4 separate regions of the Homo sapiens genome follow, and all the other regions are linked to region 1. Evidence: promoter capture Hi-C in 16 types of primary human blood cells and fetal thymus (Javierre and others, 2016). All regions are on one chromosome and are shown on one strand. The core of a region is centred on a gene start or on the middle of the fragment in contact, and the rest is flanking DNA. Distances in the headings are between cores, read along the strand shown.

Region 1 (2,700 bases), core at 77-2,576:
TACAAGTCTGCCAGGCTGGCCTGTGAGCCTCTGGGCAGAGTTCCCGTCCCATGCATTGCTGTAGCCTCAGTTCCTCCACATAGTAAATGCCCAAGTACCTATAGAAGAAATCGTGTGTGAGCCCACACTCTTTTTTTATATTTTAGAGACGGAGTCTGGCTCTGTTGCCCAGGCTGGAGTGCAGTGGCACAATCTCGGCTCACTGCAAGCTCCGCCTCACTGCAAGCCCCGCCTCACTGCAAGCTCCGCCTCACTGCAAGCTCCGCCTCCCGGGTTCACGCCATTCTCCTGCCTCAGCCTCCCCAGTAGATGGGACTACAGGTGCCCGCCACCATGCCTGGCTACTTTTTTGTATTTTTTAGTAGAGACGGGGTTTCACCATGTTAGCCAGGATGGGCTCTATCTCCTGTCCTTGTGATCCGTCCGCCACGGCCTCCCAAAGTGCTGGGATTACAGGCGTGAGCCACCGCGCCCGGCCCTGAGCCCACACTCTTTATTCGTTATGACGGTGCTGCAACTACCAATAAGTTGTGAGGGTTAAATGGGATGAGATGTCACAGTATTATTTGCCTGTTAGGGAGGTTTTAGGGCACGCGCCTCTTCTCTCCAAATTGGAATCACCCAAAGAGTTTTAGTAAATACTGGGCCCATCCAGGGTTAATTTTCTTCTAATTGGTTTGGGGTGCTGCTTGGACAGGGGGACTTTTAAAATTCTATACTGACCCACCAGGACTGACATGAGAACTACTCGCTTAGTAACTGTTAGAGGAGGCGCCAGCTGATCAGGACCTAAAGTTCATATTCTTTTTCATCTCCCCGTTGTCGCTGAAGCCTACCCCATAAACCCCTACCGTCCCTTTGCCCACAGCAGAGAATTTCCGGGAAAACGGGAAAGGTATGCAAGCATGCCCACACACGTGCACACACGGGTTCCCAAAAGACCTGCGTGTGGCCGCAGGGGCCTGCCCCGCCCTTCTCGGGCCCTTTCAGGTCCCGGCGCCCAGCGATCCCACCAGCACCTGGGTCCGGCGCGCGGCTCCCTCCCTCTCCGCGCCCCTCGGGGCTCCCTGCCCCGCCCGCGTGCCCCACCCTTCCTAGCTCTGCCCCATCGCTGCTCCCTGCCCCGCCCACGGGCCCCATCCTACCCCCACCTCGATCCGCCCCTCGCTCCTCCCTGCCCCGCCCACCGCGCCCCGTCCCTGTCCGCCCCTTCTGGCTCTCAGCACCCCCAAGACCGGTGCGCGCCCCGCCCCTCCTCCTCCTCTCGCGAGGCAGTCCCGACGCCGGAAGTGCCTGGAGCGCGCGACAGCGGCGGGGCGGGGCGGCCTGGAGGCTGTGGCGCGCGGCCGGCAGAGGGAGGGGAGAGGCCACTGGGGCCGTGTTAGTCTGCCGGTGGGGACTCTTGCAGGTACAGGCGCGGTCGGGGCTCCTCGTGGAGAGCCGGGGGCTCCTGCCGGCCTCTGACTGGGGTGTCGTTGCAGGGCCGTCCCCATGTTGCGTTTTCCGACCTGTTTCCCATCCTTCCGGGTGGTGGGAGAGAAGCAGCTCCCGCAGGAGATTATTTTCCTGGTCTGGTCGCCCAAGCGGGATCTCATTGCTTTGGCCAACACAGCTGGCGAGGTGAGTGAGCCGGCGGGAGCCCGCCTGTGCTGGGTCTGCTCCCGGGGGGCCCAAGAACACCGAGCCCGAGCCTGTTCATTCGGGCCACAGGCGGCCGGAGCCTCAGTTTCCCCTTCTGCAGACATGGCTGGCCACCTGCTACCCCTTCCCTGCCTCCCAGGACGGCAGTAAACTTTAAGTATATATGCGAAAGGTGATGTCTGTGCTATTTTCGGTACTTTTATGGCTAAAGTAACAGTTTTCACACAGCTTAACACCGTCACGCAATCCTGCTTCCCCAAGTCTTCTTCACTCATTGGTTTATTAGTTAAATGAACTTTTTAAAAAAGCCCACTATGTGCTGCTCATGAGCTAGACATAATGGTAGATGCAGGGACCCTGCCCTAAGTTTGCTTACAGTTTTAATAGCAGTAGGAAGAGTTATTGTCAAACTTCAGCTGCAAATGTGCCTGCATGTAGCTGCCACACAGGATATATTTAAGAACCTGGCTTCTCTTGTCCACGTTTTATAGTACGGGTTGGATAACCACCCTCCACTAAAAATACCTCTAAATTGGACAAGGAAGGCATGCATTGGATTCCAGACAGAACGTGCATGGGTGTTATCAGCATTTCTTGTTCACATAAAACTTCATCGAGTATAAACCAGTTGTACCCAACTTTCTGCTGAGAGTTATTACCTGCCAGCCATTTTGTAAGGAAACCTTCACCTGTGCATCTTTCCGCCTCTGGCTTGAGAGTTATCTGGCCATGTGAGAGTTGTATAGAGCCAAATTTGGAAACTAGGTGATAAGGAAATCTTAGCACCCTGCAGACTGTAGTCTGCACCATGTTATCTACCATGATCCAGTCGCCAGGGTATTGATGTCTAATTTTTCAGGGCCCTCCATGAAATCTAGCTAGTCTCCCTCCGCTGCCGGGATGCTTTGAAACTCTGTTGTGGCTCTAGAGAGCAGCAGGTGGTACCGTCACAGAAGTAGGAGGGAAGGTAGACGGGAGGCACATCCGTGCAATCAGATGGGTAGGCGTGATAGAGGGCACTGTTACATCCATTTTCTCAGTGAAGGAAGAAGCAAGGGC
Region 2 (2,700 bases), core at 6-2,505, 830 kb before region 1:
GATGCTGCAAGGTTACGTTCAGCTCCACTATAATCTTACGGGAGCAGCACCACAGCTATCTGAGAAGTTTGTCTTGACCAAAACGTTGTTATGTGGCACATGACTATATTCTAACACATGTGCATTCAAGAGGAGACATAATGAATATCAAGACGGAAAAAAAGAGAGAGACAGATTATGTATGATAGCTCTGGGAGAGGCAAAGGAACTTAAAAATGGAAGGCAGCACTGCGGACAAATGTATTCTAAATTTTATTGAAGTATTAATTCAATTAAACCCAGAAGTATGTAAAACGCTTATTATACACTAGGCAGCCTGTCCAATAAATGACCCAATCAGAAGCTACCCTTGTCAACAAAGTGCGTGTTTTTTTCAAAGGACAATGATACTAAACGGTGAGGAAGAATTTTAGGACATTTACTTTATATTTTTTTAATGTCCAACTGTGTCTCTATATCAAAAAACACAACGTTCTTAAACACAGTAAGAACAAATAAATTACTTTTCACTTATTTCAAACACATCAGTTTTTTTTAAAGGTTATCTGTCTCAAAAATTGTGACACAGAAAACTATTAAAGATTCAATGTTACTAGATCCTCCTTTGAAATCTCAAGTTTCTAAAAGAAAATGAAAGTAGATGCTATTCATCTAAATAAAAAATATAACAAAGCGAACAAATATTTTTTGAAAATACTGCTTTCAAATGTTGTATCTAGATTAGAATGCCCCCTGCTGGCATGCAAATAAAAAATTAAGAGCTCTCCAACTTAAAAAACATTTGAACATAATATAAAACTAGGATTCCAACATTTAAGAGTATCTGCAATTTTGTTAATTTTACTGTACATAAATGAAAAATAAATGCTCAGAAATCACAAAATATCCAGATTTCACACATTAAAAATTAAGTGCTTAAATTAGACATTTGCTTTGTGATTCCAGTATTTTAAAATGACAATTCCAACTTTACTGGAGATTAGACTACCCAATCTGCTAAGTATGCAAGGAGCTAAAACAAAATGATGACTATGTAGGATATAAAGGCATCTCTAAAATGTGGAAGAAATCCCGTAACACTTAAGTTTTTAGATAAAGTCCTAAACAGCTTTAAAACTTGCAATAAAAATTTTCCCTGAGGTTTGCCAAACTTCCAAGAAGTCAACACTATCAGCTGAGAATGCCACAAAACTTATCTGCATTCATCAGAATATAAACAGAAACAGGTAGTGGAGGAAAAGAAGTTTCAACAGCAGCCATCTGCTTAGTCATTAGCAATACTGAGAATAAAGACAGACAGTTCAGGAGTTTTTGATTTGAGAAAAGATTTTTAACTCCAAAAGCAGCAATATGTTAGTAAATTAATCTGGACCTTACCAATTAACTCACTGCATGTTGAAAAAAAAATTTACTAAGCAAAATTAAAAATAAAATTATTTAATTACAATCACTCTTATCTAATTACTATCTAGGCAACACTTTAAACTGTTCTCTCTCCCTCCCAAATTAACTCATGTGACTACAGAAGCACTTTTATTTAGTGGTCAGAATATGTTCTTAAAAACCAGTTTTAAATTTTTATGAGATTACTCAATTTCATGGAGGCTATTCAAATTTATGAAGAAAGGAGTACTGATTTCGCAGTTGCATTTAACTTACCAAGTAAAAATAATGAAGGTTCACAAAAATGAGAAGGTAATATTTACTTTAGACCAGCTCTACTACTAAATACAACAAATGAAATGTAAACAAAACGTTAGGTTTTCTGCTACCTTCTCCCCAAAACTCTTCAAATTCAAGACTGGGAATCTAAAGATAACTTAAAGAAGCAATGGTATGCAAAAAAACAGCTGACAACTAGAGCAGCATTTTATTTCATGAAAGACACTCTAGCATACATCTGAAAACCCTTCGGCTTACTCCCTTCCTTTCCCCAGCTGTGGGATTCACAGAAAATACCGCACAAAGTTGTCTCAGAGAAAAACCTTTCGGGTCCTTAACCATGAGGCCATTTGATATTTCTGATAGAATCTCAATACGCTTATGTTATCTGAGAATGATGACAATTTTAAATAGTGATTTAAAAAATAAAAATATGGCCAGGTGCAGTGGCTCACGCCTGTAATCCCAGCACTTTGGGAGGCCGAGGCGGGTGGATCACCTGAAGTTGGGAGTTCAAGACCAGCCTGACCAACACGGAGAAACCCCATCTCTACCAAAAATACCAATTAGTTGGGCATGGTGGCGCATGCCTGTAATCCCAGCTACTCGGAAGGCTGAGGCAGGAGAATCACCTGAACCTGGGAGGCAGAGGTTGCGGTGAGCCGAGATCGCGCCACTGCACTCCAGCCTGGGCAACAAGAGCAAAACTCCATCTCAAATAAATAAATAATAAAACAAAATAAATAAAAATAAAAATATACTATGCACTTTGGAGGAAATGAGAAACTAGAGACCAGACACAAGAGGACAAAACGATTATCCCAACAGCCTCAATACTACATTACAGCACAAATGCTGTTTATATGCCATCAAAAAAGCATTTTGGGGCCAGGTGTGGTGGCTCGCGCCTATAATCCCAGCACTTTGGGAACCCGAGAAGGGCAGATCACCTGAGGTCAGGAGTTCGAGACTAGCCTGGCCAACATAGTGAAACCCCGTCTCTACTAAAAATTAAAAAAAAATTAGCCAGGTGTGATG
Region 3 (2,700 bases), core at 33-2,532, 840 kb before region 1:
GACATCAGGGACCTGTAGTTAATGAAGTTGTCATAACACCACTGAACCGATTCATGATCTAAAAAGGTAGAAGGCGGGGAGAAAAGAAGGCACCATGAATCACCCACACAGGAATGTTCTCTAATTAAAAAAATTGTTATAAAGAATAAGCTAAATAAACCAGAAAGGAGATTTACCCACAACATTTTCTTTAAATGAACTGCAATGTTACCAACTTTCTCAAAGATCTGTAGTGTGATTCAACATTAGAAACAGTAACAAGGCTTTTGGATTTGGATGCCAAAACAATGCTTTTGAATTAACTGTTTTTAGTGAATTACTTCTCCCATTAACATCCACCTGGTTGTTTCCAAAAGATGGTCTATCAGATAAGGGAAGGCTGGAAGTATTTGGTAAAAGTCATGGCCTGTTCATTTTCAATGAAACTACAGCTTTAGATTAAGATAACTGCAAACAATTGTTGTGTATTGTTCTTTATGCCTGACACAGAGCACCTCAGACTTAAAGACGGCAAAGTTTTATTGCGACACACGTGTCTCTCAGCAATTTATGAGCAAGTCCTGAAACAGAAGAAAGTTTACAAGGATGCCCGAAACCTCCACTCATGTTTAATAAACAAGACCTAAGTCTAAGCACTTCAAGTAATTTTATTACATGTATTATCAAAAGGATATTTCTCCACTGATGAATCCTTGATAAGCTTCCAACTAGCCTAGTGTTGCTCACTTAAAGAGCTCAACCTGTAGCATCATGAAAGAAATTTTACAGTGACATCTTTCATGTGCCAAAGACAGTCATGGCAAAGAATTGCATTATTTATTTCAGAGGACCTTTGATAAATAAAACTAACAGGGTTATTGTGAAATGGGAGAGAGAAAACAAAAATTAAAACTGTTGATCCTTCTCTTGCTACTGTGATGTATGCTTATCTTCAGCATACTCTTTTCTCTTTGGTTCTAGGATTCTACCAGTTATAGTGTATAACTCTGCCTTAATGTTTTTTAGACATAACAAATATATAAGTACATTTTTATCCATTACAAAATGCATCCCCATTTCAGAAATTAAGGATGGGTGAGGTGGAGATAGGAAATAGATTTTTGAATTAAAGAATACAATAACATATTAGAACACCCATTAATTAATCCATCTGGAATGAGAAATAAAAGTTAACCATCTGAAGCCATTGACATTTAAATCAAAGCACTGAATATCTTTGGGAGCTGAAACAGCACACCTTAGAGGTAATTTTACTTATGCTGATGCTCTGTAACAAGCTGAAAGGCAGAAAAATGCCCAAGCTGGACAATAAAAAGGCAAATTTTTGAAAAGGTTGTTGATTTGCAGACTATGGCTTGAAATGTAGCTTTTTTGTGTGGTTCTCAATTTTTAGAATTCATGTACTACAGATGGAAAAATTGCAAATCTAAGTTATTTGTTAAGAACAAATGACTAGTAACTAACATCTGATGGTTCTACTGTATTTCTAAACTTGTGAGAAATAATTGGGTAAATGGGAAAATTAAATCTAAAACTGGAAACATTAATATAATTCTAGCTGTTTATCTCTCACCAATACAGTAAACCACCCCTAAGATCTAAAGCCAAACCATTTGTCTGATTTTTAGAGAGAAATCTCCCCTCCCTAGACAGATCAAGGTACTGCAAAATAACTTGAATCTAGTTTTCGATTTCAAAGGGTTATTTACATAAATAGTATTAAGACAACATTTTAATTGACATGACATTTTAGCTTCACTATGTAATCAACTATTGTCTCTAATGCAAAACATCTTGACCAGTATCTGAAACACGCTTTTTTCAAATATACTCAATGTTTCAATTAATAACATACAACCATTTAAAAAGCTTTCGTGAAAATATTCCAAATATTTTCATATCCATATATATATGGATATATCGAAATAATAACACGTGGGGATCTGGCAAAGTTTTTTGCTTTTTTTTTTTTTAAGAGCTTCTCTTATTTGAAAAGGTGGCAATCAGTGATTAAAGGCTAAATCCTCACCTTTAACTAATAAGGACAGCTCTACCAAATGTCAAGTCATCACATACTGCAAACCCCTAAAAACCACCAATGGCTAATCATCCCTTTGGCAGTGAGAGATCATAGTACCTCTCACTAATAATGCATTTCTTGGGCAAACAATAGACTTGAACTTTTCCACCTCTTGTTTACAGGCCACTTGTAGCCTAAGAACCATCATTCATACTTGTCCGTTTTTCTATTTTATTAGTTGTATTTTGATGTAGAAAGTAGTATTTTGATGTATTTATCAGAAATAGGTCATACATCTAGTGAGTGGATAACACCATTTTAACTTACTACATCCCCTCTGACTGAATCTGTTCCTTCTCAAGGCTTTAATAGGTTATGTATCTCTTGGTCACCCAGCATGTTTCGCATAGAAGAGGAATACAGTAGGTTTTTTGAGTAGATCTGTCTAATCAGGGGTAAGTCTTTAACGCTAGGTAATACCAGTATTTGGATACAAGAAAGATTAAATAACTGTTCTAAGGTAAACCATGTGCTGGTCTTCAGCCTGTGGTTTCATAACCACATTTCCCTTAACTCTCATATCTGCCCCCAAGTTTTCTGGGCCTGGGCAGAGAAGGGCTCCATTCTTTCTCACTGCTAGTCATCAATTCTTTTCAACTCATATCAGGGTTCTGGAGTAA
Region 4 (2,700 bases), core at 71-2,570, 810 kb before region 1:
AGCCTGGCCAATGTGGTGAAACCCCGTCTCTACTAAAAATACAAAAATTAGCTGGGCGTGGTGGCGGGGGCCTGTAATCTCAGCTACTTGGGAGGCTGAGGCAGGAGAATGGCTTGAACCCGCGAGGTGGAGGCTGCAGTGAGCCGAGATCGTGCCACTGCACTCCAGCCTGGGCGACAGAGCAAGACTCCGTCTCCAAAAAAAAAAAAAAAAAGTTACAACCACAGACAAATGCTTCTTAAAATCCACTGCAAAAGGGCTACACCAGAAGCCAACAACCTCTCCTTCCTTACATCAAAATGAATCAAGGTATTTTACACTGACTAGTCACAAATACAGCAATATATTGTTCCCTGACTGGTAAGCTCTTTAGGTATCTCTTTGGGTTTTTTCTTCATAATTTCCACTCCAAGAAAACAGGAAAGTAAGTATGTTGCAAAAAGAATGCTTCAGAAGAAAAGGATGGGGACAAGCAAACACATAAAAAAGGAAATATAAAAACCATTTAGGAGTGGCAGCTTTGTAAACTTACTTGTTCACTGGGATGGGGTAGCCATTTAAGGCTAGACTAACAGAGTGTGCACTAAGTTATACCAGATCCAATCTTCCGAAAAGAGCACAGTGTCAGATCTATAACCTAAAATTTATGAATAGGTATCCCAAACACTGAAGAAACTATCTTATAGACCCTTAATCTATATGCGGACAATTTAAAGATACTTTATTTAGCTAAAATGCTCTCAAACTATGGTTAAATTCTGTGCTCCTCAAACATAATCTGCCTAAGTTAGCCTCTTTACCACCCTAGAGTGAAAATTAAAGTTCGCCCTGGCTACACAATGGATATATAAGCATTTTATATCTATATATGATAAGAGCTACATTTAATGAAGCATTCCCATTAGTTAAGTTCTTCCTATCAAATAGCAAAGTTACATTTGAAATTTTTAAATTTTAAGCTAACTTATTGTAATAATACACTCCTTTACTTATATTACTTAAAGGCAACACCAGGTTAGCTCCTAGAAGAAACCCCAATAAGCTTACCCTGTCTTAAGTAAGCTTTTACAAGTAGTTATAACCTCTAGAAAATGCTCCATTAAAAAAATCACAATGCCAAAAATACTTCATTTGAACTATAAAATCTGTTACTTGTCATTCCCTATGAAGTGAACCAAAATCTTTCAGAGGTACTCATCTTTTGAAAGCCTATCCTCCACCCACTTCCTACTACACATACACACAGCACCAATATTGCATAACTTTCTTGTATCCCAATTTCCAAATTCTGTTCTCAACTGTGGCTTACCAAAAAAATTCAATGCAATGTGAATCAAGTCAGAATAATGATATTCCTCCTAAAGATGAGTAAAATCTCCCCCTTATTATCCTCAAGTCCTTGACATTACCTGCATTTTAAAGTAATACAACATAATGAGCTATGATTTTGCTTATGCAATTATTGTCAATTATACTGTAATTACCAGTGATCAATAACGTATCACTGAACAACTACAAGAATTTATTCAGTGAAGATTAAGGTTTAAGCCAAAAATATGTCCCATAAAGTCATAAGGATAAGCTTATTTAAATATTTTAAAGTTCAACTGCTATTAAATATCACGCTGAATAAAAAGTTCTAATAAAATGAGATAAATCAAAGAATTAGAAAAAACTGACACAAATGTTGAATGAAAACTGGATATTTTGATCCAATAAATTGTTTTAAGTTATGATAGCTCTATTTTAAGAAACTATCTCAGAGATACACACTGAAATATTTATATATATAATTATTTGGTATCTAAGACTGCTTCGAAATAACATGGGACAGGGAAATAAATTAAGATTGGATATGAAATAAATAAGACTGAAATAGTTAAAAGTCGATGATAAACACATGCAGTTCATTATTCTATTCAATTTCTGCGGCTGGGTGTAGTGGCTCACGCCTGTAATCCCAGCACTGTGGGAGGCTGAGGCGGGCGGATCATGAGGTCAGGAGTTAGAGACCAGCCTGGCCAACATAGTGAAACCACAACTCTACTAAAGATACAAAAAGTTAGCCAGGCATGGTGGCGCACACCTATAGTCCCAGCTACCTGAGAGGCTGAGGCAGGAGAATCGCTTGAACCCGGGAGGCGGAGGTTGCAGAGAGCCGAGATGGCGCCACTGCACTCCAGCCTGGGCAACAGAGTGAGACTCCATCTCAAAAAAAAAAAAAAAAAAAAAAAAGAGAGACTCTTGTTTCATTTATCCCATTAACACTATATATCTCTCTGACAACAAAGACTCTGACAACAAAGACTCATATCACTGCCTACACAACGCTCCAAAATGGTTTTTAAAAACCTCAGGGAGAAGATCACATAGATATGATTTTTCTTTTTTTTTAAAAGAAATGTGGTCTTGCTATGTTGCTCAGGTTCAAATGCAGTAGCTATCACAGGCATGATCAGAGCACACTGTAGCCTTGAACTCCTGGCCTCAAGCAATAATCCTGCTTCAGCCTACGAAGTGGCTGGGAATAAACAGGCATATGCCACTGAGCCCCACTCAAACAAGTCACATTTAAAAGGACTTAAATATCACATAAATACAGAATAAGCAGAAGCAACCAGAGGGAAGACTTGAGAAAGAATCATCATCAGGTAGCATACATCATAACTTATGCAGAATGCAAGTATAAGACAATAAAAA

What was found. Contacts are between HindIII fragments. The CHiCAGO score rates a contact against its expected background, and 5 or more counts as called.
Region 2: a fragment that was not itself captured here is called in contact with the fragment with the promoter of ANAPC4 in region 1 in 6 of 17 cell types (fetal thymus, naive CD4 T cells, total CD8 T cells and 3 more); the score reaches 9.0 in fetal thymus.
Region 3: a fragment that was not itself captured here is called in contact with the fragment with the promoter of ANAPC4 in region 1 in 1 of 17 cell types (megakaryocytes); the score reaches 5.5 in megakaryocytes.
Region 4: a contact is called between a fragment that was not itself captured here and the fragment with the promoter of ANAPC4 in region 1, in 3 of 17 cell types (fetal thymus, non-activated CD4 T cells and total CD8 T cells). The highest score is 6.6, in fetal thymus.

Annotation. Positions count from the first base shown.
Region 1 is chr4:25,375,937-25,378,636 of GRCh38, forward strand. It overlaps ANAPC4 (anaphase promoting complex subunit 4), which reads left to right and starts at 1,327. Exons shown (of 29, transcript NM_013367.3): 1 at 1,327-1,408; 2 at 1,482-1,620. The coding sequence starts at 1,492. RefSeq lists a silencer at 1,030-1,449 and enhancers at 1,570-1,629, 1,660-1,729. The HindIII fragment of the contact is 5,076 bases long and covers 1-2,700 here.
Region 2 is chr4:24,550,944-24,553,643 of GRCh38, forward strand. The region is part of intron 5 of DHX15 (DEAH-box helicase 15); the gene reads right to left. Among named protein-coding and RNA genes, the nearest start is that of MIR573, 32 kb to the left of the region's middle. RefSeq lists an enhancer at 2,247-2,700. The HindIII fragment of the contact is 3,436 bases long and covers 1-2,700 here.
Region 3 is chr4:24,532,997-24,535,696 of GRCh38, forward strand. DHX15 (DEAH-box helicase 15) reads right to left here. Exons shown (of 14, transcript NM_001358.3): 12 at 1-58. Among named protein-coding and RNA genes, the nearest start is that of MIR573, 14 kb to the left of the region's middle. The HindIII fragment of the contact is 1,169 bases long and covers 699-1,867 here.
Region 4 is chr4:24,567,381-24,570,080 of GRCh38, forward strand. The region is part of intron 3 of DHX15 (DEAH-box helicase 15); the gene reads right to left. Among named protein-coding and RNA genes, the nearest start is that of DHX15, 16 kb to the right of the region's middle. The HindIII fragment of the contact is 520 bases long and covers 1,061-1,580 here.